Linked DNA regions of Homo sapiens: all the other regions are linked to region 4. Evidence: promoter capture Hi-C in human tissues and cell types (Jung and others, 2019). All regions are on one chromosome and are shown on one strand. Each heading gives the region's core, a stretch centred on a gene start or on the middle of the fragment in contact. The rest is flanking DNA. Distances are from core to core; before and after follow the strand shown.

Region 1 (2,853 bases), core at 31-2,530, 170 kb after region 4:
AACCAGCTGATTACCATCTTGGTCACTTGAGAACTCAGGTCTGTCCAATAAACACCCTAATCCAAGGTGGTGTTAAATACATATATATATATTTTTACTTTACGTTTATTTATTTTGAAAAATTTCAAACCTATAGAAAAATTGAGGCAGTACCATAGTCTTAGTCCATTTTCCATTACTTAGAATATCCAAAAGTGAGTAATTTATAAAGAAAATTAATTTATTTCTTACAGCTATGGAGGCCAAGGTCGAGGGGACATATCTGGTCAGCGTTTTGCCATGTTGGTCAGGCTGGTCTCGAACTCCTGACCTCAAGGCCTGCCTTGGCCTCCCAAAGTGCTGGGATTACAGGCATAAGCCACCGTGCCCAGCCACCTCTGAGCACTTTAGATAGTATGTCTTAAGAACAAAGACATAGCCCGGCGCAGTGGCTCACGCCTGTAATCCCAGCAGTTTGGGAGGCTGAGTCGGGCGGATCACCTTAGGTCAGGAGTTCGCGGCAAAACCCCGTTACTACTAAAAATACAAAAAATTAGCTGGGTGTGGTGGCGTGCACCTGTAATCCCAGCTACTCGGGAGGCTGAGGCTGGAGAATCACTTGAACCCAGGAGGCAGAGGCTGCAGTGAGCCGAGATGGCACCACTGCACTGTAGCCTGGGTGACAGAGCAAGACTTGGTCTCAAAAAAAAAAAAGAAAAAAAGAACAAAGACATTTTCCTATATAACCACAATGCCGTTATCACACTCAAGAAACTTAACATTGATATGATTGTGTATAATACATAGTCCATATTCAAATTTTTCTCTCATTTCAAAATTATTCTTTGTGGCCTAAAATCCTGTATCCAATCATGATATTTTTGAACAATCCAGACTAGTTGTTGTATAGAAGTAAGTAGTTTGTTTTTTTTGTTTTGTTTTGTTTTGTTTTTTGAGACAGGGCCTGGCTCCGTTGCCCAGGCTGGAGTGCAGTGGCATGATCACGGCTTACTGCAACCTCTGCCTCCTGTGCTCAAGCAATCTTGTGCCTCAGCTTCCTAAATAACTGGAATTAGAGGTGCGTGACACCACGCCTAGCTAATTTTTGTATTTTTAATAGAGATGGGGTTTTGTCATGTTGCCCAGGCTGGTCTTGAACTCCTGGACTCGAAGCAATCCTCCCACCTCAGCCTCCCAAAGTGCTGGGATTTATAGGTGTGAGCCACCAGGCCTGGCAGTTAAGTACATTTTTTAAGGACTAATAAAAATGTAGAAATCTTCGTTATTTCCGGAATCCTTTATGTTTTACTGCCAGTACTAATGTAGTAATGCCAGACAGTAGTCATGTCTACTGTTCCAGGTTGTCCAAAGGATTCAGCAGCAAAGGATGAAAGTGGTGGGAAGTTTTGCATAGTGGTCGACCAAGGGCTAGTTTGGTGAGTGTCTTGCCTATGATAATGGACAGGAAGACACCAGTTATTTTATTTTATTTTTATTTTATTTTATTTTATTTTAATTTTATTTTGTGTTGTGTTGTGTTATCTTTGAGATGGAGTCTCACTGTATCACCCAGGCTGGAGTGCAGTGGCGCAATCTCGGCTCACTGTAACCTCTGCCTCCCGGGTTGAAGTGATCCTCCTGCCTCAGCCTCTTGAGTAGCTGGGATTATATGCGTGAGCCACCACACCCGACTAATTTTTTGTATTTTTAGTAGAGACAGGGTTTTACCATGTTGGCCAGGCTGGTCTTGAACTCCTTACCTCAGGTGATCCACCCACCGCAGCCCCCCAAAGTGTTGGGATTACAGGCGTGAGCCACCACACCCAGCTGACACCAGTTATTTAACTCACATTTCTCTGTTTTCCTTTTAAAGGTAGTAGTGACACCTTTGAAATCTTTTGGCATTTTCTTTGCCTGTTCTCCCTTATGTGTTAAGGATAAGCTTACGTGCAGAATGGCTTGTTAAGTTTTTTCTCCTCCGTACTTGGAAATCTCATCTGGTGGGACATTAGGGTCAGAATTTTGTATATTATATATTATATATCTATCATGATATATATAATGTATTTTATATATTATATATTATATAAATATCATGATAGATATATAATATATAATTATATGTTATATATTTTATATTTATAAAATAAAAATAAAAAATTGCAATTATTTTCAAATAGTAAAACCACGTAGATAAAATATAATTCTGGCCAGGCACGTGGCTCATGCCTGTAATCCCAGCACTTTGGGAGGCTAAGGTGGGTGGATCACCTGAGGTCAGGTGATATAATATACAACAGATATAATATGTCTATTATATATTATATATAATGTTATATAGATATCTATATTATATATAATATATTAATAGATATATTAATATAATATATATTATATATTATACAGATATCTATAAATATATTATATATAATATATTATAGATATATCTATGTATATTATATCACCTGACGTCAGGTGATCCACCCACCTTAGCCTCGCAAAGTGCTGGGATTACAGGCGTGAGCCACGTGCCTGGCCAGAATTATATTTTATCTACGTGGTTTTACTATTTGAAAATAATTGCAATTTTTTATTTTATTTTTTGGTTCTGGAAACATTTGTGTGGACTTACCTATGATTGTCAGGTTTACTGATTTGCTGGAGATTTTTTGGGCATGACAAAGGGTTTCTTCTTTGATAAAAGTTTTTCTGGGTAATGTGATGGTACAGGTTGAGTATCCTTTATCTGAAATGCTTGAGACATGAAGTGTTTTGGATTTGAGAATTTTTAGCATCTTGGAATATTTACCACATACATAGTAAGGTACCTTGAGGATGGGGCCCAAGTCTAAACACAGAATTCATTTGTGTTTC
Region 2 (2,847 bases), core at 74-2,573, 190 kb after region 4:
AGAGTCTCGCACTGTCACCTGGGCTGGAGTGCAGTGGCGCGATCTCGGCTCACTGCAATCTCCGCCTCCTGGGTTCAAGCGATACTCCTGCCTCAGCCTCCCAAGTAGCTGGTATTACAGGCGCCCATCACCACACCCAGCTAATGTTTTGTATTTTTAGTAGAGACAGGGTTTCACTATATTGGCCAGGCTGGTCTCAAATTCCTGACCTTGTGATCTGCCCGCCTTGGCCTCCCAAAGTGCTGGGATTACAGGCGTGAGCCACCGTGCCTGGCCTAATTTTTGTATTTTTAGTAGAGATGGGCTTTTGCCATGTTGGCCAAGCAGGTCTCGAATTCCTGACCTCAAGTGATCCCTGCCCTTGGCCTCCCAAAGTGCTGGCATTACAGGAGTGAGCTACGCCATGCCTGGCCTGGATTGAGGATTTTTTAGTGGTTCATTTTTAAGTCCTTTCTTGGCTCATTAGTACTTTGTTATTTTAGTGGCTGCTTTAGTGTTTATTGAGTTCAGCTTGTGAAACTCAGTCTTTAATATTATACCACTTCACCTATATTACAAGAACCTTATAGCAGTACACTTCATTTTCCCTTCAGACTTTGTGCTATGTTTGTCATACACTTCACTTTTACATATGTTGTAAACTCCACAATACATTATTATTTTTCATTTAAGTAGTCAATTTTTTTAAAACAATTTTTTTTTTTTTGAGACGGAGTCTCACTCGGTTGCCCAGGCTACAGTGCAGTGGTGCAATCTTGGCTTACTGCAGCCTCTGCCTCCTGGGTTCAAGTGATTCTTATGCCTCAGCCTCCTGAGTAGCTGGGATTACAGGTGCGCCCCATCATGCCTGGCTGATTTTTGTATTATTAGTAGAGATGGGGTTTTGCCACGTTGGCCCAGCAGGTCTCGAACTCCTGAGCTCCAGTGATCCGCCTGTCTTGGCCTCCCAAAGTGCTGGGATTACAGGCATGAGCCACCATGCCTGGCCTAAAAAGATTTTAAAAGTAAGAAAAAATGTCTTTTACTTTATATGTTTTCCATTTCTGGTGTTCTTTATTGCCTATGAGCGGTTCCAGATTCTCATCTGCCAGATTTTCTTCAGTTTTTTCTCGTCAGTTCAGATTTTCTTTCTGCCAGAGGACTTCCTTTAATGTGTTTCTTGTAGTGTAGGTCTGCTGGTGATATCTTTAAGCTTTGGTGTGTTTGAAAAAGTACTTCCTCTTGTTTTTAGAAAGATATATTCCTTTGATACAGAATTCTAGGTTGACAGGTTTTTTTCATTGTGTACTTTAAAGATGTTGCTCCACTGTCTCTAGCTTGCATTATTTCTCCTGTAAAATCTGTTGTTATTTTAATCTTTGTTCTTCAGCGAGCAAATTTATCTTTTTTGCCTTTTTTGGTTAATTTTTAAGATTTTCTTTTTATCACTGCTTTTTCAGCAATGTGTTTATTATATACTTTGTTGTAGTTTGCGTCATATTTCTTGTGTTTGAATTCTCTTGAGCTTCATGGATGAAATTTACGTATTCAGCTACTATTTCTTGAAATATTTTTCTTTTGTACTTCCCCACCGCATCTGGAGTCTGTAATTACATGTATATTTGGCTGCTTGAAGTAGTCATACAACTCACTGATGCACTGTTATGTTTTTTAGTCATTTGATTCTCTTTGTTTTGGGTAGTTTCTACTGATCTTCATTTCACTAGTCTTTATCTTTCCCATGTTAAATCTGTTACTCTTATCCAGAATTATACCTTTTATCCTTAAAAATTCAGTTTTTTTCTTTTTTTTGAGACGGAGTCTCATTCTGTCACCCAGGCTGAAGTGCAGTGGCATGATCTTGGCTCGCTGCAACCTCCGCTTCCCAGGTTCAAGCGATTATCCTGCCTCAGCCTCCCAAGTAGCTGTGATTACAGGCATGCATCACCATGTCTGGCTAGTTTTTGTATTTTTAGTAGAGACAGAGCTTCACCATGTTTGCCAGGCTGGTCTCAAACCCCTGACTTCAGGTGATCCACCTGCCTCAGCCTCCTAGAGTGCTGGGATTACAGGAATGAGCGACCACACCTGGTTTGTTTCTTAAAAAACATCTTATATTTCTCTGCTTAACGTGCTCAATGTTGAACATGTGAAATATAATAACTTTTCATAATCTCTTCTGATTCTGTCTCTATATCATCTTTGGGTCTGTTTTTATGTATTCTATTTTTCTTGTCATTATGGGTCAGATTTCCCAGTTCTTTGCAATCCTAATAAATTCTGTTTAGATGAAAGACATTGTGAATTTCACTTTGGGTTGTGGATATTTTTGTATTCATGTTGGTATTTTTGAGATTTGTTCTGGAGTGCAGATGAGTTAGCTGGAAACTAATTCTTTTGAGGCTTGCTTTTTAGCTTTGTTAGGTGGGGCGTATCCTTTCTGTGTTTATTTTTGTAAGGGTATACAGATATACATGTTTTCTTATTTCCCTCTTTATTTATTCTTATTTAATCTGTAACAATCTTTTTCCTTATATTCGTAACATTCTTAGTTAGGGAGTAATTACCTCTTCCCTAACTGTTGCATTAGCTTCTTAATTGGCACTCTGGTTCCCAGACTTTTTCTGTCTCTAATGCAGTGTACAGACTACTGTCAGAATAATTCTAAAGCACAATTCTGATATTGTCACTGTATTGCTTTTCAGTGCCTACAGCAGTAGGATTCACTTAAAAAATTATTCCCCTAATAGTAATATAAAAAATTTTTTTGAGCTCAAACTCTCATTCTCTCTCAGTATACATATTTGTTTATACATGAGGTCACATACTGCTTACTAAGTTAGCATTTTTTATGTGTTCATTTTGAAA
Region 3 (2,744 bases), core at 176-2,675, 240 kb before region 4:
TGTGGCTTGTGGAAGTGTTTTGTGTGGCTTGCATAGTATTTTAAAAACCCAGAGTCGTAGCTTCCCTTTAAAAAAATTGGATCTAGCAGTATCAATCCTGTAACAATTTAGAAAGAGTCTATGTGCTCTAATTTGTCCATCTTTCCCTTTGATCATATCTGTACTATTTCACTTAGACATGAAAGCCCTAATTTACAGTTCTATAACAATTATTTTATTAAACACTGACTTTGTGCCAAGCCTACTGGTTGCCTTTTTACCTGCTTTATTTCCTGTACCCCTTCTAATCATCCTGTCATGTGGTTAGCATTATAATTTCTACTTGACAGATGAGGGAATGGAGGCTCAGAGAGGGGGCATCCTTGTCCAAGGTCACACAGCTAGGAACTTGAAGAGCTGAGACTCCAGGCTCTCTGCCTTTAAAGCCTGAGTTCAATTTATCCACCTTGTAATTCTGCCACTAAAGTGTCCCTCAAGCTTAAAGAAGTATGAATCTGAGATTCCAAGATTCCAGTATGATAGAAAGTCAGGGCTTCTGTTGCACTGAGATAAGAATGTGAAAAGAGGGGCAGGGAGTTGAACTATGTGGGTGAGGACGGGAACAGTGTGTATTGTGGGGAAAAGGCTGGATTCGGGGGTGGTCTGGTCAGGAGGCTGACATCTTTATCCTAGTTTGTAACTATAGTTTGCTGGGTGACCTTGGGCAAGGCTCTTTCCATCTTTGGGTCTCGGTTTCCCTGTGTGTGAAATGAGATTCAATGTGATGACCTTAAGAGTTTCCCATTCCTGAAATTCTGACTCTGGGTCTATTGCCAAAGCAAAAGCCTCTGGGCCCTTGCCCCCAAAATCTTTGGATTCTAAAATGGCTAAGGGCCTGGATAAATGGAGGGAAAACCCAGAGAAGGTATAGAGAAGCTGCAGGGGCTGGCATTCCTAGAAATTAAGCAATGTTGGCCCAGCACATTTGCTTACCACGTGAGATGTTCCCACAGATGTTCTGAGTGGTGGGGCCTGGGGTAATGAAGAGGGAGATGTGTGATTGAGTCCTCCAGAATCACACCTGGGAGGCTAGGCAGTCACTCACCTCCTGATCCCATTTCCTCAATTCTGAATAAAATAATTATAATCATGAAGATATTTTTCAACCTCTTAGACTTGTAAAATCCTGAATTAAAAATTCAAATGCTTTGAGGACCCAGGCAGGTAACAGACCATAAGACCATAAGATACAAGGGGTGTCAGACAAGAGGACATTCAGGGGCAAGTAGTGTCCGAGGAAAAGGGAAGCTCCAGCTGATCATGCCATGAGAAATCGTGGACCCAGTCTTGATTTCTCAAGAGAAATGGGAAATTGGGATTTTTCCGTGAACTCTCCAAAATTTAACTACTAATTAAAATGTTTAAAAATAGTGTCAACCAAAGGAAACATATTTATTAGCCTGTCTTCTTTGTAACCTCTGGTTTAGCTCTTCAAATTGATAAGGTCTTTTCACACAGAAGATTTTATTACTAATTTAAACATAAAATGAAGCTCTGAAGAGAGAGAGGAGGAGAAAGCATACACAGACACTGCACACCTACCGTGTCCCCACAGGCCCTGTGTGAGTGTTTCAGGCATGTGATCTCATGTTACTCTGAAACCCTCCCCCCTGGTGACTATTGATATACCCATTTATCAGATAAGGAACCTTGTCCAAAAGTCACCCACTGAGGAAGTGAGGAAAGGTGATCAGTCCCAAACCTAGCTCTATCTTTTACACCACACACTGGCTACTTTGGGACATGCCAGAACAATATCTTTGTGCACAGAGAGATTGAACTCTGAGGGAACAGCAAACAGATCCTCTGGCGGGGCACGAAGCTGGCTGTGGCCTGGACACCAACCTGCAACTTCATCCCTCCCTTCCCTTTAAACTCTCTGAGCTGTTAAACTGCCCAGGGTTCTTAAGCTAATTAAAGTCCTAACCCTGTCCCCTCTGACCCTGTAGGCAGCAGAGCAGTAAGCCATGAATCCTGCTTTTCCTAATCTTGAGCTCAGTGGGCCCCAGCTTCACCCAGATAAGCATGGTTTGCTAAGCCAATTAGTGGGAGACGATCTGACATGGGATTCCTGCCAGGCTTTCGGGATCTGGGAACCCCAAAATGGGGAGAAAATTAGGCAATTGGGATTTAGGGGCCCTCCCTCTAATGCCCTCTCTATGCATAGGCCCAGACACTGCACTCTATGTCACCTAAGAAGCCCTGCATGACAGAGAAGTTCTGGAATGAGTTAGTGACCTATTGGAAGGAAATGTCAGGCTCTGGATTTCCCCTCTGGGAAACTACATTCTTGGCATAACGGTTGAGAGGGTTGAGAGCACGGACTCTAGATTCAAGTGTCCTCAGTTTAAATCCAGACTTTACTACTTCTTATATGTGACCTTGACAAGGCAAATAATCTCTCATCCGTTGTAAACTAGGGACCAAAATTGTACCCACCCGCCTCTTAGGTTGTTTCAAGGTTTAATGAGATAATGTGTAAGGGTTCAGCAAAGGGCTCATTCCATCGTTAAATGCTCAGAAACTGCTGGCAATGATTAGTGCATTAGCTTGGGCTTTGCTCCCTGTGGAACAAAGCTTTGTTCACGGAGCACATGGCAGGACAGCAAGGGGGTCCTGAAGTCCCTTGAAGCCATAATGACATGGCAGTCATTCATTTAATCTGCAGTCATTCATTCAGCAGACATTTATTAAGCACCTGCTGT
Region 4 (2,831 bases), core at 191-2,690:
CTGGAGAGTCTCAATGACTTGCACCATTCCAAGAAACATCAAACAGGATTAACAGGGGTTGGATTTACTCTCAGGCTGCTAATTCTTCTGTCAGTGTAGATGGGCCCTCTTTGGAGTCTCTTTGATTCACTATTTCCTCAGATTCCTGCTGCCTCCCACTCCTGGGGAGGCCTTGAACAAATGGCTGCAACTCATCACAACCCCATTTTCATGGGGAGAAAACGTGATTCGACACCCCCGCTCCCAATCTGGTGGCCTCACCTTAGGAGAGAAAGGTTAGAAACCCAAGACCAGACTCTACACACAGTCCCATGGCTGACAGGTGGAAAAACACACAAGCCAGGAGACAGGCTAAGCTTGCAGGTGAAAGCACCGATTCCCCCACACAGGTGTCCCCATATCCTCCACCTAACAGGCCCCTTTCTCCCCACCAAGGTGGGCCACAGCCTGGTCCCAGGCCAACTTTTAGATCACCCCACTGTGGTGTGGGAAAGGTTCAATTCCCCGAGCCTGGGAGAGATGGGAGTGGATGAGGGCTGGAGAAGCAAAGGAAATCCAGGGAGAAGTCTGGAGGGAGTCTCTGGGATGGGAAGGAAGAGCGAGGATGGGAAGGAATCATGAGCAACTTTCCTGGGTCTCTAAGGGATCCCCACAAGAATGAAATGGGGGATTATAAGGGCTGGAAGGCTGGGGGGATGGGGATAGTCAGAAGTGTATCCTCTGAATTTCAAGAGGGTCTCAAAATGGGTAACGGGATGGAAGATGTCGAAAGCCTGGGAGTATGGCCACTGAGGAGGGAACTACAGGTGGGGCTTATTCGACTTCTCCAGACCCAGATATTTGAGGGAAGCCTCAAAGGGAGTTATGTAAGTCTGGAAAATGAAACAGGGTACAGAGCGGGCTATCTGGAGCAGGAAAGGGGGTTATGTGGGTCTGGGTAGGCGTGTCGGAGGGAGGGAGCAGGTGCAGCTTATCTGCGTCCCCCAGACCCGGGTCCCTGGTAAGGTCAGCAGCGCCTTATCTGGGTCTCCAGGGAGCCTAGGGGTCGGGAATGGGGGACCCTCAGGACTGCGTCTCCAGGTCTCGGAAGGGAGGGGACCGGTGGCTTCCTCGGGTCCCCCAGACACAGGTATGGGGTCCAGGGAGAGTTTTCGTCACCCCAGGGCCTATCTGGGGCCGGGTTGGCGCAGACCGGGCCCCGGGTCGGGGGTGTGGGCGACCGCGCTGAGGGGCCCGAGATGAGGCGCGCCGCCGCTCCGGGTACAGGGCGCGCGGACGCAGCGAGACGGCCTCCCGCCCCTCTCCCCGCCGTCCCCTGGGGCCCTCGCCGGCACTCACCGCGCTCGGGGCCCCACGCTGCGGGCCGGGCCGCGCTCGGGCTCCGCCAGGCCCCCTCAGGCCCCGGTAGTGGCGGCGGTCGGGCCATTGTGCGGTGCATTGTGGGAGCCGCGCGAGCGGGCGCTCGGGTCGTGGAGGGGGCGGTGCCGCGGGATCTCTATGGTCCCGCCCGCCCGCGGGCTAGAGCGGCCGGGGCGGTGCGCGGGCGGCGCGCAGGGACCGCTGGGAGCGGGGCGGGCGCTCGCGTCCCTCCTTCCCTCCCCGACTGTGCGCCGCGGCTGGCTCGGGTTCCCGGGCCGACATGGGCGCCGCCGCGTGGGCACGGCCGCTGAGCGTGTCTTTCCTGCTGCTGCTTCTGCCGCTCCCGGGGATGCCTGCGGGCTCCTGGGACCCGGCCGGTTACCTGCTCTACTGCCCCTGCATGGGTAAGGCCTCCCAAGCCCTCTGCTCAGATGGAGAAACTGAGGCCGGGAGAGGAAAAGCCACTCCTCAGATGCGCCCAGAGACACCTTCACAGGTCCAGGAGAGAACCTCAGAGCGGGACGGGGCATGCTCTTCTCCTCTCTGCCTTAGTTGCAAGGGCACAGAGGGGCCAACGTGTCCAACTTTCCATTTGACAGATGAGAAAACTGAGGCTGGGAGAGGTTACGTGACTTGCTTGAGGTCTAAGCCAGTCCAGGGTCCAGTAAATGGAGTTAGTGGGGCAGGACTTGATGTCACTGACCCACGCTGGCTCCTGGTGATTTTTCATTGATTCAGCAAATATTTATGGGGCACCTATTCTGTGCCGGGCCCTGTTCTCTGTACTGGGAATACCGCAGTGAATAAGATAAACTCCGTGTCCTTGTAGAGCCTTCATTTTAGTTGGGGAAGACAAACAATTGAGAATAAGTAGGCCAGGCGCGGTGGCTCACTTCTGTAATCCCACCACTTTGAGAGACCGAGGCAGGATCACTTGAAGCCAGGAGCTCGAGATCAGCCTAGGCAACATAGTGAAAATCCAATCTCAAAAAAAAAAAAAAAAAAAAAAAGCAGAGCGTGGTATCGTGTGCTTGTAGTCCCTTGGGAGTTATCTGGGCGGCTACTTGGGAGGCTGAGGTGGGAGGATCTCTTGAGCCGAGGAATTCGAGGCTGCAGTGAGCTCTGATCGTGCCACCGCACTGCCAGCCTGGGTGACAGAGTGAGACCCTGTCTCGAAACAAGCAAACCCAAAAAGGGGTAAACATAAAACAATAAATACATAGTTTCATAGAGGATGATGAATACTAAGGGAAAATAAAGAGAGCAGGGTAGGGGAGAATCTAAAGACCATGCCAGGTGCACAGTTGAAATGGGTATGGTGGATCATCATTGTGGAAGTGGATGATCTTAAGGCCCCCAGTGGCTTCCAGACTCCTGACCATGACTTTCAGGGCCCTGAATGATGTGGCCTCCACTGGCCATCTCCACAACTCCCTTCTCTGCTGATCCTCCAGCTGCAGCCACACTTAACT
Region 5 (2,700 bases), core at 1-2,500, 140 kb after region 4:
TGGCATGTGGTGAGCTCTCTAGAAGTAGTAGCAGTTAGGGTTATTATGTGAAAGCATTTTGTAAAGCTGGATAGCACAGCAGAGAGGTAGGTCTGAAGGTGACTGTGCCATGAGCATGTGGCCTTCATTGAAGCCTTACCTCATCTCTGCTCAATTGAATTTCATTCAGCCTCCAACGCCCCCATCTTGTTGCCTGGGTGAAATCTTTGTCTCAGGGTGTAGAGCTTTCTCCTTTCCTCTTTTCATCCAGCATTTACTGAATGCCACTTTGGGCTGAGCATCCTGCTGGGCGCTGGGGCTATTGAGCTGCAAAACCCAGAAGGAGCATGGTCAGGAGCCTGCAGGAGGGAGCCCAGGGCATTCTGGGAGCCTCGTGGCCATGCACATTAGAGCTAGACTGTGAAGGAACCTAGCTGCTGAGTTTTGCTTTTATTCTGCCAGGGGAGACTCTGAAGGCTTCTGAGCTGGGTGATAAAGTTCGTGGATAAACTAAGAGTTCACAACATTCTTGTTTAAGTACTGCATGGTAAAAGTAAATATTTGCATTATGGTTAAATCCATAATCTATATTTAAGCACTGCAGTCAAACCAAAAAGCTACAAGATGGAGATGTAAAGGCATGTAGAGGAGCACAGACCTCAGGGCAAATAACGTCTCCAATCGAAGACAGTACACTACTAAATTAGCAGGAAATGTAGCCAAATGGAGCAGGGAGGTTTTGAAGCCGGATAAACCAGGGTTGGCACTTACTATCTGTTTTGAGCTATTGCACGTCTGGGGGAGGGTTAATACCCTGCAGGGTTGCTGAAGGGATTAAAGAAATATCCATCAAGTGCCTGGCACTTAATAGGCACACAATATGAGGCATATATTATTAGATATTAATAGCAATATTAAGATAAGTAGTGGAGCATCATGGAAAGAGTTCTTGTGTCAGCCAGCCCTGTGTTCAAATTCTGATACATCCAGAGCAAGCTTCTTAACCTTTCTGAGCCTTTAGTTGTCTCCTCACCTGCAAAATAAACAAGTAAGACCTCCTATGTAGGGTTGATGTAGGGAATAAATAAGAATATAGACTTTGTAGGCTATGTAATAGATGTTCAGTTAAGTGCTATTTTAAAACCAAAATGCAGTGAGCTCTATTGAAATTTTTTGTTTGTTTGTTTATTTTTGAGACAGGGTCTTGCCCTGTTTCACAGGCTGAAGTGTGGTGGCACCATCTTAGTTCAGTGCAACATCCACCTCCCTGGTTCAAGTGATCCTTCCACCTGGGCCTCCCAAGTAGCCGGGAGTACAGGCGTGCACCACCATGCCCGGCTAATTTTTTGTATTTTGTGTAGAAACATGGTTTTGCAGGTGGGGCGCGGTGGCTCACGCCTGTAATCCCAGCACTTTGGGAGGCTGAGGGGAGTGGATCACAAGGTCAGGAGTTTGAGACCAGCCTGGCCAACAGGGTGAAACTCTGTCTCTACTAGAAATACAAAAATTAGCCGAGCATGGTGGCGCATGCCTGTAATCCCAGCTGCTTGGGAGGCTAAGGCAGGAGAATTGCTTGAACCTGGGAGGCAGAGGTTGCAGTGAGCTGAGATCACGTCACTGCACTCCAGCCTGGGTGACAGAGCAAGACTGTCTCGGGAAAAAAAAAAGAAACATGGTTTTGCCATGTTGCCTAGGCTGGTACTGAATATTTTGATTATAAAAGTTACATCTTCTAATGGTAAAAAATTCAAACAATACAAAAACATTTTAAGAAAGTAATTACAAATCACTGGAAACTCCGTTACCCAGAGCCAATGATTATCTTTTGGATACCTCTTTGTGCAAACTCTTTTAGTTTGACCATCATGGTATATGTAAATTTATTCTACTCACCTGTCCTATTTTCACTCAATGATATGTTGTGGACATATATCCAGTTAATTTAAATTTATATTATTGTTTTAAATCAGTACCTTGCATTATATTATATTATATTGTACCAGAATTTATTTAACACTATTGATGGTCATTGAAGCTACTTCCAGATTTTTACCATTTTATACAATGCTATATTAAGCAACCTTGGACAAAGATCACTGTTCGCTTGTTTAATTTCCTCCTGGAATAAATCACTGTACATGAATTACCAAATCAAAAGGTTTTCCCATTATAATTTTATTAATTTTTTTTTTTTTTTTTTTGAGATGGAGTTTTGCTCTTGTTGCCCAGGCTGGAGTGCAATACAGTGATCTTGGCTCACCGCAACTTCCGCCTCCCGTGTTCAAGTGATTCTCCTGCCTCAGCTTCCCAAGTAGCTGGGATTACAGGCATGCGCCACCACACCCAGCTAATTTTGTACTTTTAGTAGAGACGGGGTTTCTCCATGTTGGTCAGGCTGGTCTACCTCAGGTGATCCACCCGCCTCAGCCTCCCAAAGTGCTAGGATCACAGGCGTGAGCCACCATGGCCGGCTAAAATCTTTTAAATTGTTATTTTTTATAAAGAGACAGGGTCTCACTGTGTTGCCCAGGATGGTCTTGAACTCCTGGGCTCAAGCAGTCCTCTCACCTCAGCCTCCCAAAGTGCTGAGATTACAGGCGTGAGCCACCACTGTTGGCCTATAATTTTCTTGTGTTAGCCAGACTTGTGTTCAAATCCTGATACACCCAGAGCAAGTATGATTTTGTTACATATTGCTAACCTGCCTCCCAAATCAATTGT

Evidence for each region. Contacts are between HindIII fragments. The study calls those that stand out against the background at their distance.
Region 1: a contact is called between a fragment that was not itself captured here and the fragment with the promoter of PLAGL2 in region 4, in 1 of the 25 tissues and cell types used here (mesenchymal stem cells).
Region 2: a fragment that was not itself captured here is called in contact with the fragment with the promoter of PLAGL2 in region 4 in 1 of the 25 tissues and cell types used here (spleen).
Region 3: a contact is called between a fragment that was not itself captured here and the fragment with the promoter of PLAGL2 in region 4, in 3 of the 25 tissues and cell types used here (H1 embryonic stem cells, IMR-90 fibroblasts and lymphoblastoid cells).
Region 5: a contact is called between a fragment that was not itself captured here and the fragment with the promoter of PLAGL2 in region 4, in 3 of the 25 tissues and cell types used here (liver, mesenchymal stem cells and thymus).

The regions. Positions count from the first base shown.
Region 1 is chr20:32,374,768-32,377,620 of GRCh38, forward strand. The region is part of intron 4 of ASXL1 (ASXL transcriptional regulator 1); the gene reads left to right. Among named protein-coding and RNA genes, the nearest start is that of ASXL1, 18 kb to the left of the region's middle. The HindIII fragment of the contact is 3,163 bases long and covers 1-2,853 here.
Region 2 is chr20:32,394,026-32,396,872 of GRCh38, forward strand. All of the region lies in intron 4 of ASXL1 (ASXL transcriptional regulator 1), which reads left to right. Among named protein-coding and RNA genes, the nearest start is that of ASXL1, 37 kb to the left of the region's middle. The HindIII fragment of the contact is 9,568 bases long and covers 1-2,847 here.
Region 3 is chr20:31,970,588-31,973,331 of GRCh38, forward strand. All of the region lies in intron 1 of XKR7 (XK related 7), which reads left to right. Among named protein-coding and RNA genes, the nearest start is that of XKR7, 3.8 kb to the left of the region's middle. RefSeq lists enhancers at 1,489-1,990, 1,991-2,490 and a silencer at 1,579-1,873. The HindIII fragment of the contact is 4,685 bases long and covers 1-2,744 here.
Region 4 is chr20:32,206,303-32,209,133 of GRCh38, forward strand. It overlaps PLAGL2 (PLAG1 like zinc finger 2), which reads right to left and starts at 1,441. Exons shown (of 3, transcript NM_002657.3): 1 at 1,339-1,441. It overlaps POFUT1 (protein O-fucosyltransferase 1), which reads left to right and starts at 1,578. Exons shown (of 7, transcript NM_015352.2): 1 at 1,578-1,763. The coding sequence starts at 1,640. RefSeq lists a silencer at 1,228-1,647 and enhancers at 1,412-2,325, 1,788-1,917. The HindIII fragment of the contact is 8,119 bases long and covers 1-2,831 here.
Region 5 is chr20:32,344,769-32,347,468 of GRCh38, forward strand. No RefSeq gene overlaps it. Among named protein-coding and RNA genes, the nearest start is that of ASXL1, 12 kb to the right of the region's middle. The HindIII fragment of the contact is 4,958 bases long and covers 1-2,700 here.